2 separate regions of the Homo sapiens genome follow, and region 1 is linked to region 2. The links are contacts of gene promoters, found by promoter capture Hi-C in human tissues and cell types (Jung and others, 2019). All regions are on one chromosome and are shown on one strand. Each heading gives the region's core, a stretch centred on a gene start or on the middle of the fragment in contact. The rest is flanking DNA. Distances are from core to core; before and after follow the strand shown. Region 1 overlaps LOC105378856 (a long non-coding RNA gene). Region 2 holds the start of C1orf146 (chromosome 1 open reading frame 146).

What was found. The method cuts DNA at HindIII sites, captures the fragments that hold promoters and counts their contacts. A contact is called where the count stands out against the background at its distance.
Region 1: a fragment that was not itself captured here is called in contact with the fragment with the promoter of C1orf146 in region 2 in 2 of the 25 tissues and cell types used here (heart left ventricle and stomach).

Annotation. Positions count from the first base shown.
Region 1 is chr1:91,489,846-91,495,131 of GRCh38, forward strand. It overlaps LOC105378856 (a long non-coding RNA gene), which reads right to left. Exons shown (of 3, transcript XR_947599.4): 2 at 1,159-1,279. Among named protein-coding and RNA genes, the nearest start is that of CDC7, 8.4 kb to the right of the region's middle. The HindIII fragment of the contact is 7,632 bases long and covers 1-5,286 here.
Region 2 is chr1:92,214,986-92,220,947 of GRCh38, forward strand. C1orf146 (chromosome 1 open reading frame 146) reads left to right here and starts at 2,930. Exons shown (of 6, transcript NM_001012425.2): 1 at 2,930-3,063. The HindIII fragment of the contact is 16,370 bases long and covers 1-5,962 here.

The DNA of each region.
Region 1 (5,286 bases), core at 746-3,245, 730 kb before region 2:
TCAAAGTTAATTGTGCCTATGCCTCCATTTAAAATTTATTTTAGGGTCAGGCATGGTGGCTCATGCCTGTAATCCCAGCACTTTGGGAGGCCAAGGTGGGCAGATCACCTGAGGTCAGGAGTTTGAGACCAACCTCGCCAACACAATGAAACCCCATCTCTACTAAAAATACAAACTTTGGCCGGGCATGGTGGCACATGCCTGTAGTCCCAGCTACTCAGGAGGCTGAGGCAGGAGAATCACTTGAACCTGGGAGACAGAGGTTGCAGTGACCTGAGACAGCACCACTGCACTCCAGCCTGGGAGACAGAGCGAGACTCCATCTCAAAAATAAAATAAAATAAAATAAATTTATGTTAGTATTTTGGAGAAGGGGCAGTGATGGATAGCCTAACTGGAAAATTCTTCTTTGGGATAAAATTTTATATTTAAAACTTGAAACTAAGCAGATAATTGTTCTAAATCTGAAAAACCACTAGCATTAAACCCCAATTAATATTGCTGTATTAAGTTATATCTTAGTAAATTGTCTTAAATAATGGACAGTCACAACTTTATGTTTTTAAAAAATCAATATTGGCTAATTACAATCTTATTCTGTAATTTTAAAACACATAAGAATATGAAAAGTTTTGTATAGTATTGATACATCGTTTTTAAAATGTGCTCTTAAGCATATTTCTTTTCCAGCAAAAAGGCACCAACACAAAGGGCCTGAACTTGAAATTTCTAGGGATTTTTCAAAATCTTAAATCATCTTCTTTAAAGATAACAAACAATTGGAAGTCAAGCCATTAAGATTTCATCATACTGGATATTTTTCCCATTAATAGCTGAACTGATATAATCAGCACATTTCAGAGTAGTACCAGATGCTAGCAAGTTTCAGTCCCTGGAGACGAAACTTGACATATCACAGTACTTGCTCCTTGACCTCCCAGTCCTAATAGTATTTGACTATATACTGGAGCCCTGGGAATGTACAGAAATCTCAATTTTCATAAGTTTGCATTTAAATTCTTAAAATATGAATTTGGTCCTGTGAGTCTCTCTGAATTTTAGTAATAATAACAGGATTTTTTTCTCCAGAGTGTTTGAAATCTGTATATCTTAGGAGGAAAATATGTGTTATTTGTTTTCTTTGCATGCTGTAATTACCTTTAGGTGCAACATATTTATTTCATACTATAAATACTTTTTCTCCCTTGGTAGATTTGCAGGTTTTTTTTTTACCAAGTTCCCATTCTTCACGTTTTTAGTTTTTGAAATTGGGTTGCAACTAGCCACAGGTACCACCAAAAAAAAAAAAAAGATAAATGAATAGATATAAAACAACACTAGATAGATAAATAATTATTATACTCAACTGTTTGGGTTCCTTTTAAAAAAATTGTCTTTAATCTACTCCTGAGAGATTTGTATCTCTTTAAACTGCTACAGGACAATAGGACAAAAATTAGTATCTTTTTTTCAATAATAGAGCATGAAGTTACCTGTACTTGAAAATTGAATTTCAAATTGAAGTCAGCCTGAGCAAGTTATTTGCTAGCCAAGTTGAAAAAACTTTAAAAAATATATAGTTGAGATCTCCTGGAAAACTGGATATCCACATGCAAACGAATAAAGTTGGGGCCAGGCACAGTGGCTCACACCTGTAATCCCAGGACTTTGGGAGGCCCAGGCGGGCAGATCACCTGAGGTCAGGAATTCGAGACCAGCCTGGCCAAAATGGTGAAACCCGTCCCTACTAAAAGTACAAAAATTAGCCGAGCGTGATGGCAGGCACCTGTAATCCCAGCTACTCAGGAGGCTGAGGCAGGAGAATCACTTGAGCCCGGAAGGCGGAGGTGACAGTGAGCCGAGGTCGTGCCACTGCACTCCAGCCTGGGTGAAAAGAGCGAGACTCCATCTCAAAAAAAAAAAAAAAAAAAAAAGAATGAAGTTGGACCCTTACCTAACACCATCTACAAATATTAACTCAAAATAGATCAAAGATCTAAACAAAGAGCTAAAACCATAAAACTCTTAGAAGAAAACAAAGGGCCAAATTTTCTCAACATTAGATTTGACAATGATTTCTTGAATGTGACACCAAAAGCACAGGCAACAAAAGGAAAAAATAGACAAACTGTACTTTATGAAAATTTAAGCTTTTGGGATTGTTTCCTTTGGGGAGTAAAAACAAAACAAAATCTTTGTGCATCAAAAGACACTATTAATAAAGTAAAAAGTCAACCCACACAATGGGAGAAAATATTGTCAAGTTATACATCTGATAAGGGATTAATACCCTGAATATAAAAGAACTCCTAAAATTCAACAATTAAAAAAATTCAAAAAATTGGAAAAAGCCTTTAATATACTTTTCTCCATAGAAGATATACAAATGGTCACAAACACATGAAAAGATGCTCAACATCAAAAATTACTTGGGAAATGCAAGTCATAACCACAGTGAGATTCCACCTCACATCCATTAGGATGGCCACCATTAAAAAAAAAAAGTGTTGGCAAAAATATGGGGAAATTAGAACTCTGTGCACTGTTGGTAGAAATGTAAAATGGTGCAGCTGCTGTGGAAAACAGTATGGTAGTTCATCAAAAGCTAAAAATAGAATTACCATATGATCTAGCAATTCCACCGCTAGGTACATACTCAAAAGAATCAAAAGGGTCTCCCATGTATACCAATGTTTATAGCAGCATTATTCACAATAGCTAAAACATGGAAGCAACCCAACTGTTCATGACAGATGAATGGATAAGCAAAATGTGATACAGTCATCCCTTGGTATCCATGGGGGATTGGTTACCAGACCCCTCACAGATACCAAAATTCACAGATCCTCAAGTCCCTTATATAAAATGGTGTAGTATTTTCACATAATCTATCCAATCCTCCCATATATTTTAAATCATTCTAGATTACTTATAATACCTAATACAATGTAAATGATATGTAAATAGTTGTTATACTGTATTGTTTAGGGAATTATGGCAAGAAAAAACATCTGTATATGTTCAGTCCAGATGCAAACATCTATAGTTCCCCCTGAATATTTTCAATCTCAGTTGGTTGAACCCACAGATGTGAAATCCACAGATACAGAGGTTGTAGATGCACACGATGCATCTACATACAATGGAATATTATGTAGTCTTAAACAGGAAGGAAATTCTGACATATGCTACAACACAGATGAACCTTGAGGACATTATGCTAAGTGAAATGCGCTTGCCACAAAATGACAAATCTGTATGATTCTGCCAGAGTTACTTAGAGTAGTCAAATTCATAGAAACAGAAAGTAGAATGGTAGTTGCCAGGGTCTGGGGGACTAGGGAATGAAGTTATTGTTCAATGGGTGTAGAGTTTCAGTTTTACCAGGTGAAAAGGGATCTGGAGATGGATGGTGGTGATGGTTGCACAACTACGTAAATGTATTAATACCACTGAACTGTAGTATGCTTAATGATGGTTAAGATGGTAAACTGTATGTTATGTGTATTTTACCACAATAAAAAGGAAAAAATATATAGTTGAGGTCTAATCCAAATGAAGACCTTTGTGTTCAAAGAATCCTAGATTCCAATTTCAGCTCTGCCACTTACTGGCTTGTTGTCATCGGTATTTACTTAATCTTTTTTTTTTTAAGACAGGATTGCTCTGCCTCCCAGGCTGGAGTGCAGCAGCCTGATGATCTCAGCTCACTGTAGCCTCGACCTCTCAGGCTCAGGTGATCCTCCCACCTTCACCTCCCAAGTAGCTGGGACTGGAGGTGTGCACCACCATGCCTGGCTAATTTTTGTATTTTTACTAGAGATGAGGTTTCGCCCTGTTACCCAGGCTGGTCTCAAACTCCTAGGCTCATGCAGTCCACCCACCTCAGCCTCCCAAAAGTGCTGGGATTACAGGAGTGAGCCACTGCGCCTGGCCAGTCTTTTCTAAAGCTAATATTTCTGATCTATAAAATAAGTCCAATAATTAAAGAATTAATAAGATAACACATAAAAAGATCTTACTACAGTGCCCAACTCAGTGCCTATGACAGTGTGCATCAAATGCATCCCCTTCCCTTACATTCATTATGTCAATAATTCAAATATATATCAAATGGGATCAAGAAGGAATTGCGGAGGTTTTCCCTTATAGCACTGCTATTGAACTTTTCTCATTTTTGTTTGGGATGCTTGGATGAGAGAGAAGTCTCCCAGTTTGGTTGCTAGAATTTATGTCCCTCAATGCCAGTACTATGTTCTTTTACCTCATTCAATGTCCATTTACCTCATTAAGTGGCCCAAAGTGTCCATTTCCCTCATTATTCTAATATAGGCCTAAACTTAGATATTATGTACTTACCTCAATTCCAGCTGTACCCTGAGGAAAGGGGTGGAGGGCAGAACAACTTATCCCAATTCCCTCTCAATAATTCACCAGGTTCTTATACAGAAACAGGCCTATTTTAGAGGAGCAGTGGGCCACAGAGAAAGTGCTGTCACCAGCTGGCTAGCTCTTGTTGTGAGCCCATACCTTGTGTGCAGGGAGTATCTATTCTATTTGTTCATACTCTCCCACTGTTGACTCCAAAGAAGAATACTCTGTTTTGGGTGTTTTTCTAAGGAGAGGTGTGTCTAGAGGAAAGTGCTATGTTAGTGACCCTTCTTGAACCATGACTTTGACTGCTACTGACTATCATCTTCAGGAGGAAGCCAAAAAATGGCAGAGTCAAGTCTCAATCCATCATCCAGACATGTAGGATATGCATGGAAGCCCTTCCTATGTTTAGAGCTCAGGCCATCCCTTCCCTAACCCCTCATCCAACAGGGACCCACTGCTCACTAATCCACCTCCTCCAAAAAGCTACATCAGAGAGAAAGGGATGTATTTTCATTGGCTAATTTGTTCCTATGATCCACTTGTTAGAATCACTGACCTGGTTATTATTACTTCAACTGCTTTCTCTTGCAAAGGAGACCACATTTGGTAATGCTACAAACAACATTCTTGTCAATCAGCAATGATGAGATCAGGGTTGCTACTTTTGCTTTCTTGTAAGCCTTGTACTTAATCAAACTAGGTGCTTAGTCTCTTTTTTTCATCTCTTAAGGAGAAATAAACACAGAATAGAAACGTCCTATATGCTGCATAAGGCCTCATGTAGAGGAGACTAAAAAAATTGAAGCTTTTCCAAAAGAGACCATTTCAGGTCATCTATTTTAAGTTCTCTCTCTCTCTTTCTCTCTCTTCTTATATTTGTATAAATTTAAGGGATACAAGTGCAGAGTT
Region 2 (5,962 bases), core at 1,680-4,179:
GCTCACCACGACCTCCACCTCCTTGGTTCAAGCAATTCTCCTGCCTCAGCCTCCTGAGTAGCTGGGATTACAAGCATCCACCACCATGCCTGGCTAATTTTGTATTTTTAGTAGAGACAGGGTTTCTCCATGTTGGTCAGACTGGTCTTGAACTCCTGACCTCAGGTGATCCACCCGCCTCGGGCTCCTAAAGTGCTGGCATTATAAGCGTTGAGCCACTGTGCCTGGCCTGTTTTTTTATTTTTTTTTTTTTGAGAGCAATTATATGGTTTTAAGCAAAGGAAAGACACAATCTGACTTCTGTTTCAAAGGATTACCCTGGTTGCTATGTTGAAAAAAGACTTTAGGGGCAAGGTGAAAACGGAAACCTGTTAGGAGTCTATTGCAATAATCCAGGTGAAAGCTGATGGTGGCTCAAACCAGAAAGGTGGTCAGGCTCTGGATATATTTTGAAAGTACAGGCAACAAGACTTCCTGATGGCTGAAAAGGGTATGTAAGACAGTCAAAGTATTTAAATAAAATATGTGTAATCTTTAATTGAGATAAGGAAGACTATAGATGGTGCAGCATTGGGAGGGGAAGTCAGAAGTTCAGTTTTGGACATGTGAAATTTGAGATGTCTATTACTGGAAATATTAAACAGCAATTGGTTATACCAGTTTGGAGTTCAGGGGAAAGGCCAGGGCTGTAGATAGATATTTGGAATTTGTCAGCACATGGATGATATCTAACACTATGAGTTAAGGAGGACACCAAAGTAACAAATATACCCAGAGAAGAAAAGAGGTCCAAGGACTGAGCTTGCGGCACTCCAAGCAAGATTAAAAGGTTGGGTTTTGAGGAAGAACCAATAAGGATGCTGATAAATGGCCAGTGAGGCTGGAGGGAAACCATGAGAGCATGATATGGGGAAGCCAAGGAAAGAAAGTTTTTCCAGGAGGAGGGAATGATCAACTGTAACAAGTACTGCTGATTGACCAAGTAAAATTAGTATTGACAGCTGTTTGCTGGATTTACCAATGACTTTGACATGAGCAATTTCTGTGGTATGGTGGAAATGAAAAAGTCTGATTGGAATAAATTTGATAAAGAATGGGAAAAAAGGGCATTAGCAACAGAAATTATAGACAATCCTTTTGAGTTTTTCTGTAAAGAGAGCAGAGAAATGGATTGTTAGCTGGTGTGGGAGAGGAGATTAAGAGATTTTAAGATGAGAGAAATAATGGCATATTTATTTGCTATTGAGACTATTCAGTGGAGAGGAGAAAATTGAAGATTGTAAGAGTCAGGAAATAATTGGTGGATATATATATATATATATATATATATATATTTTTTTTTTTTTGAGACAGTTTTGCTCTGTTGTTCAGGCTGGAGTGCAGTGGCATGATCTTGGCTCACTACAACCTCTGCCTCCCAGGTTCAAGCAATTCTCCTGCCTCAGCCTCCCAAGTAGCTGGGACTACAGGTGTGCACCACCACACCTGGCTAATTTTTTGTATTTTTAGTAGAGATGAGGTTTTGCCATATTGGCCAGGCTGATCTTGATCTCCTGACCTTGTGATTCACCTGCCTCAGCCTCCCAAAGGGCTGGGATTACAGGCGTGAGCCACCGCGACTGGCCGGTGGAGCTATATTCTTGGGTAAGCAAGAAGAGATGGGCTCTGTTGTCCATTTGAGGGCTGGCCTTACATAGGATTATACAGTTCACCTACTATAGTTGGAAAGAAAGCAGAATCTGGCATATAGATGTTGGTAGATTGGTAGGTGGACATCTGTGGAACTTCGTTTCTGGATGCTTTTATTTATCTCATTTGAATAGTATTTAATATTAAATACTAAATACTATTAAAATCATAAATCTTTATGAAATATTAGCAGTAACTATTTCACTTCAGCCGAAAATGAAGATGAGGAATAAGTTCTGGAGATTTGAAGAGAGGAGGAATTGTCTTAGTCCATTATGGCCACGATAACAAAATACCTTAGACCAGGTAATTTATAAACAAGAGGCCAGGTGTGGTGGCTTAACAAACTGCCCAAATGAGGCAGCAAGAGTGCACCTAATTTTAATATCAGTTATACAAAATGCCAAACATACAAAATGGTTATCACAGGGAAAAATTAACAGCACATCACAAGTGTGCTCCAAAGGATTTTTCCTGGAGCACCTTTCTTTCTACAGGAATACCTGTTTTACAAAGTAAGGCACATAGTTTTGTATCCTAACCATTAGGCTCAAGGCAAGTAGTGGTCTTTGTCTTTTTACATTTTTATGATTGTGACACTTAATAAATTGCTGAGCTTCAATTAGGTCTGAACATAATGGGGTCCTAAAAAGCAAACACACAGGCCCCTGTATGTCCTTTTGACAGCTGCTCATGAAAATCTACCTTTTTCATAATTTGGATAAACTGAAGGCCACTTTGATTTTATGTTGCAAATGACAGAAATCTAAGAATTGAGCCTGAATTTTAGAAAACTGTGAAAATCAATTCCGGACAACTGAGTCTAACACGCAAAAATCTTGTTTTTTTTTTTTTTTTTTTTTTGAGACGGAGTCTTGCCCTGTCACCCAGGCTGGAGTGCAGTGGTGCGATCTCGCTCACTGCAACCTCCGCCTCCTGGGTTCAAGCGATTCTCCTGCCCCAGCCTCTCGAGTAGCTGGGATTACAGGTGCGCGCCTCCATGCCCAGCTAATTTTTGCATTTTTAGTAGAGACGGGGTTTCACCATGTTGGTACGCTGGTCTCAAACTTCTGACCTCGTGATCCGCCCACCTCGGCCTCCCAAAGTGCTGGGATTAGTGGCATGAGCCACCGCGCCAGGCCTACAAATCTTGTATCTTCTTAACCACTTCCGGCTTCCTGCAAACCTCGCTCTAGGGAGCCAGAAGCGCGGAAAAGGTTTGCGGGGTCTGCGGTTGCGCAGAAGCCCAGCGACTGCAGAACCCTGCCCCAGGCACCCTGGGCGCTCTGCCCTACCGGCGGCGCCTCTCACTGCTCACGGAACGTTCTGGAAGTTTGGGAAACCCTGAGCGGTCTCTGAGGACCTGGTGAGCAGGTGGGTTTGCAGCGCTGGGGATGAGGCCTCGGCAGACCTGTCTCTTCGCGTTTTTCTTTCTTCGTTCTTCGCCGGCGTAGTGCTCTCTGACTTGCCGAGCTCAGAGCTTTACCTCAGGGCTTTGGCGGGTGAGGGGAGGAGATCCTGCCCACCCTATTTTCCCCTTGAGAATCGGTGTGGAAAGGGCTCCCTCGGGGTTTTCCCTGTCAGAAGTCCGTCACCCACCTGCGAGTGTAAATTTTATTTGCTTTAGGCTTTGTTGGTCACTCCGAAAAGTAAAGAATGGAAGAGACCGTGAAGATCCTTGTAGGCCGGCGCCTCACTGGACCCGTGAGGAGACTGAGCAGGGAAAGTGACTTGCTGGAGATGATGGGGCAGTGTTAAACTTAAATTTGCAAACACTCCAGAGCTTGGAAAAAACAAAACAGTAGCAACAAAAGCCCAGAATACCAGGGCCTTGGAACTGGCAAAGGTTTAAGAGGCCACTGGGCCCACGCTTTTTGTTTTTATTTTTAATTTAACTTTTATGTTAGGTTCAGGAGTCCGTGTGCAGGTGTGTTACATAGGTTAAACTCGTGTCACGGGAGTTTGTTGTCCAGATTCTGTCGTCCCCCAGGTGCCCATTAGTGACTGTCCCTCCTCCACCTTCTGGTCCCCCGGTCCCGTCCCCCGCGCCTGCCCCTCCCCTCTGTCCCTGCACGCTCAGCGTTCACCTCCCGTTTAGAAGCTTTTTGTTTTCAGGTGAGGATGCAGCCTAACCAGAGGTGACGTGATTTGCCCAAAGCCACACAGTCCTTGCTTGGCTGCTGGTCGAGGAGCTTTTCCCCAGAAATGCTGAGAAGGCACTGCCCCAGCCCCAGGTTTCTGATTCATTCCTCACCTTTAACAGGGACTTGGGACACGACTGACCCCACTCCTTTCTCACTTATTGTGCACGTGATTACTTTACTTCTCTTAGCTTTAGTTAAATTGTTTTTAAAACCTATGTATAAGGGTGTAAAGATTTAAATGAACATTTATGGATTACTAACTGATAGGCACAAACATACATATCCACATACATACCAGTAACTACTCCAAAAAGTTCTTGTAACCTTTGCATATATGTATTCATAGCTATGTGGGTGTATTAGTAAGTATGTGTAGGGGGGGTTATAGAAGTTGAAGCCCTTCCCCCAGCCAACTCACCATTTACTCATTCACAAATCTTTGAGTGTCTACTGAGTGCCAGGTGCTGAGTAAGGTAAAACAGAATCAGAATGTGTCCCTGCTCTCATGGAGCTAGTTAACTTCTCATTCATTCATTCATGCAATAAATGAGGAAATTAGAGAGCAGCTGGTTTCAACTCAGCAGGAAGAACTTTCTAATTATTAAAGTTGTTGAAAAGTAGAATGAAATCACCTTGGGAGATACTAACTTACCATCACTGAAAGTGACTTTCTCTTTCTTTTTTTTTTTTTTTTTTTTTTTTTAAGACAGAGTCTCGCTCTATCACCCACGCTGGAGTGCAGGAATGGGATCTCAGGTCACTGCAACCTCCACCTCCTGGGTGTGCAGCCACACCTAAGGAATGGGGAGTTATATTCCCCACCCCCACTGTTTAATATTTTTAGAGACAGGGTCTTGCTATGTTGCCCAGGCTGGAGTACAGTTGTTATTTACAGGTGCAAACATAATGCACTGCAGCCTCAAACTCTTGGCCTTAAGCAATCCTCCTGCTTCAGTCTCCCGAGTAGCTTGAATTATAGGTGTGTGCCACTGTGCCCAGCTCCATGCTCCTGTTCTTAAGGTTGGAGTATATATACATAAATTTTTTGGAATTATTCTGCACAGATTTGTCTCTTCTCCATTTATTGGTTTGTTCAAACCTTTATATCAGTATAGACTCATGGATATTCACTTTATACTTTGGATTATAATGCTATTTTATTTTGCTCAAATTGTTCCAGCTTTAGCCATTGGGAGCTCTTTCAGTTGGTTCCTGTGCTCTTATGACATGCCCCATCAATGCCATCTGTGTGGGGTTTTTTTGTTTGTTTGTTTTTGTTTTTAAGTACTTTCTTTTTGGCACTACTCTGGACTCATCTTGTATGTTTCCTGTCCCAGTCCTAGAATCGACCATTTCTCCAAGGAGCCCTGGTTCCTTTTTTGGAGAATGCTATTTAGAAACCAAAATCTGGGTGCTAGGTGTACTTGTTGCTAGCACCCAGGTGCTAGGGTGTCGTTTGTTTTAGGCCCTTTCAGCTAACAGAGTAAAGAAATAGATGTGTGTGTACTAATCTGGGTATATACACATACAGTCATGCATTGCTTAATGATGGGGATGTGTTCTGAGAAATGCATCATTAGGTGATTTTGTCATTGTGAGAACATCATAGAGTGTAATTACACAAACTTAGATGGTGTAGTCTACTAGACATCTAGGCTATATGGTATAGCCTATTGCTCCTGGGCTACAAATATGTATAGTATGTTAATGTACTGAATACTGTAGGCAACCTGCATATCTAAACATATCTAAATGTAAAAAAAGTAAAAATACAGTATTATCATCTTGTGGCACCACCAGTCATATATGAAGTCCATTGTTGACTGAACAGTTAATATGCAATGCATGACTGTATCTATAAAATATTTCTGTGTGTATTCTTCTGTATCTATATTAACAATGAGTTCATACTGTGACCGCCAATTCTAACTATGGACCATTCTAGCCTTGAGAGGTAGGATTAAAAAGAGACTTTAAACAAAAGCATGAAGAATGAAGTTTTTAAAAATGCTGTTATGAGCATTCTTGTATAAGTCTCTTAGTACAGATCACATGCATTTCTGTTGAGCATACATTTAGGAGTAGAGTTGCAGAGTTACAGGTTACGAGTATCTTCAACTTTAGTAGAT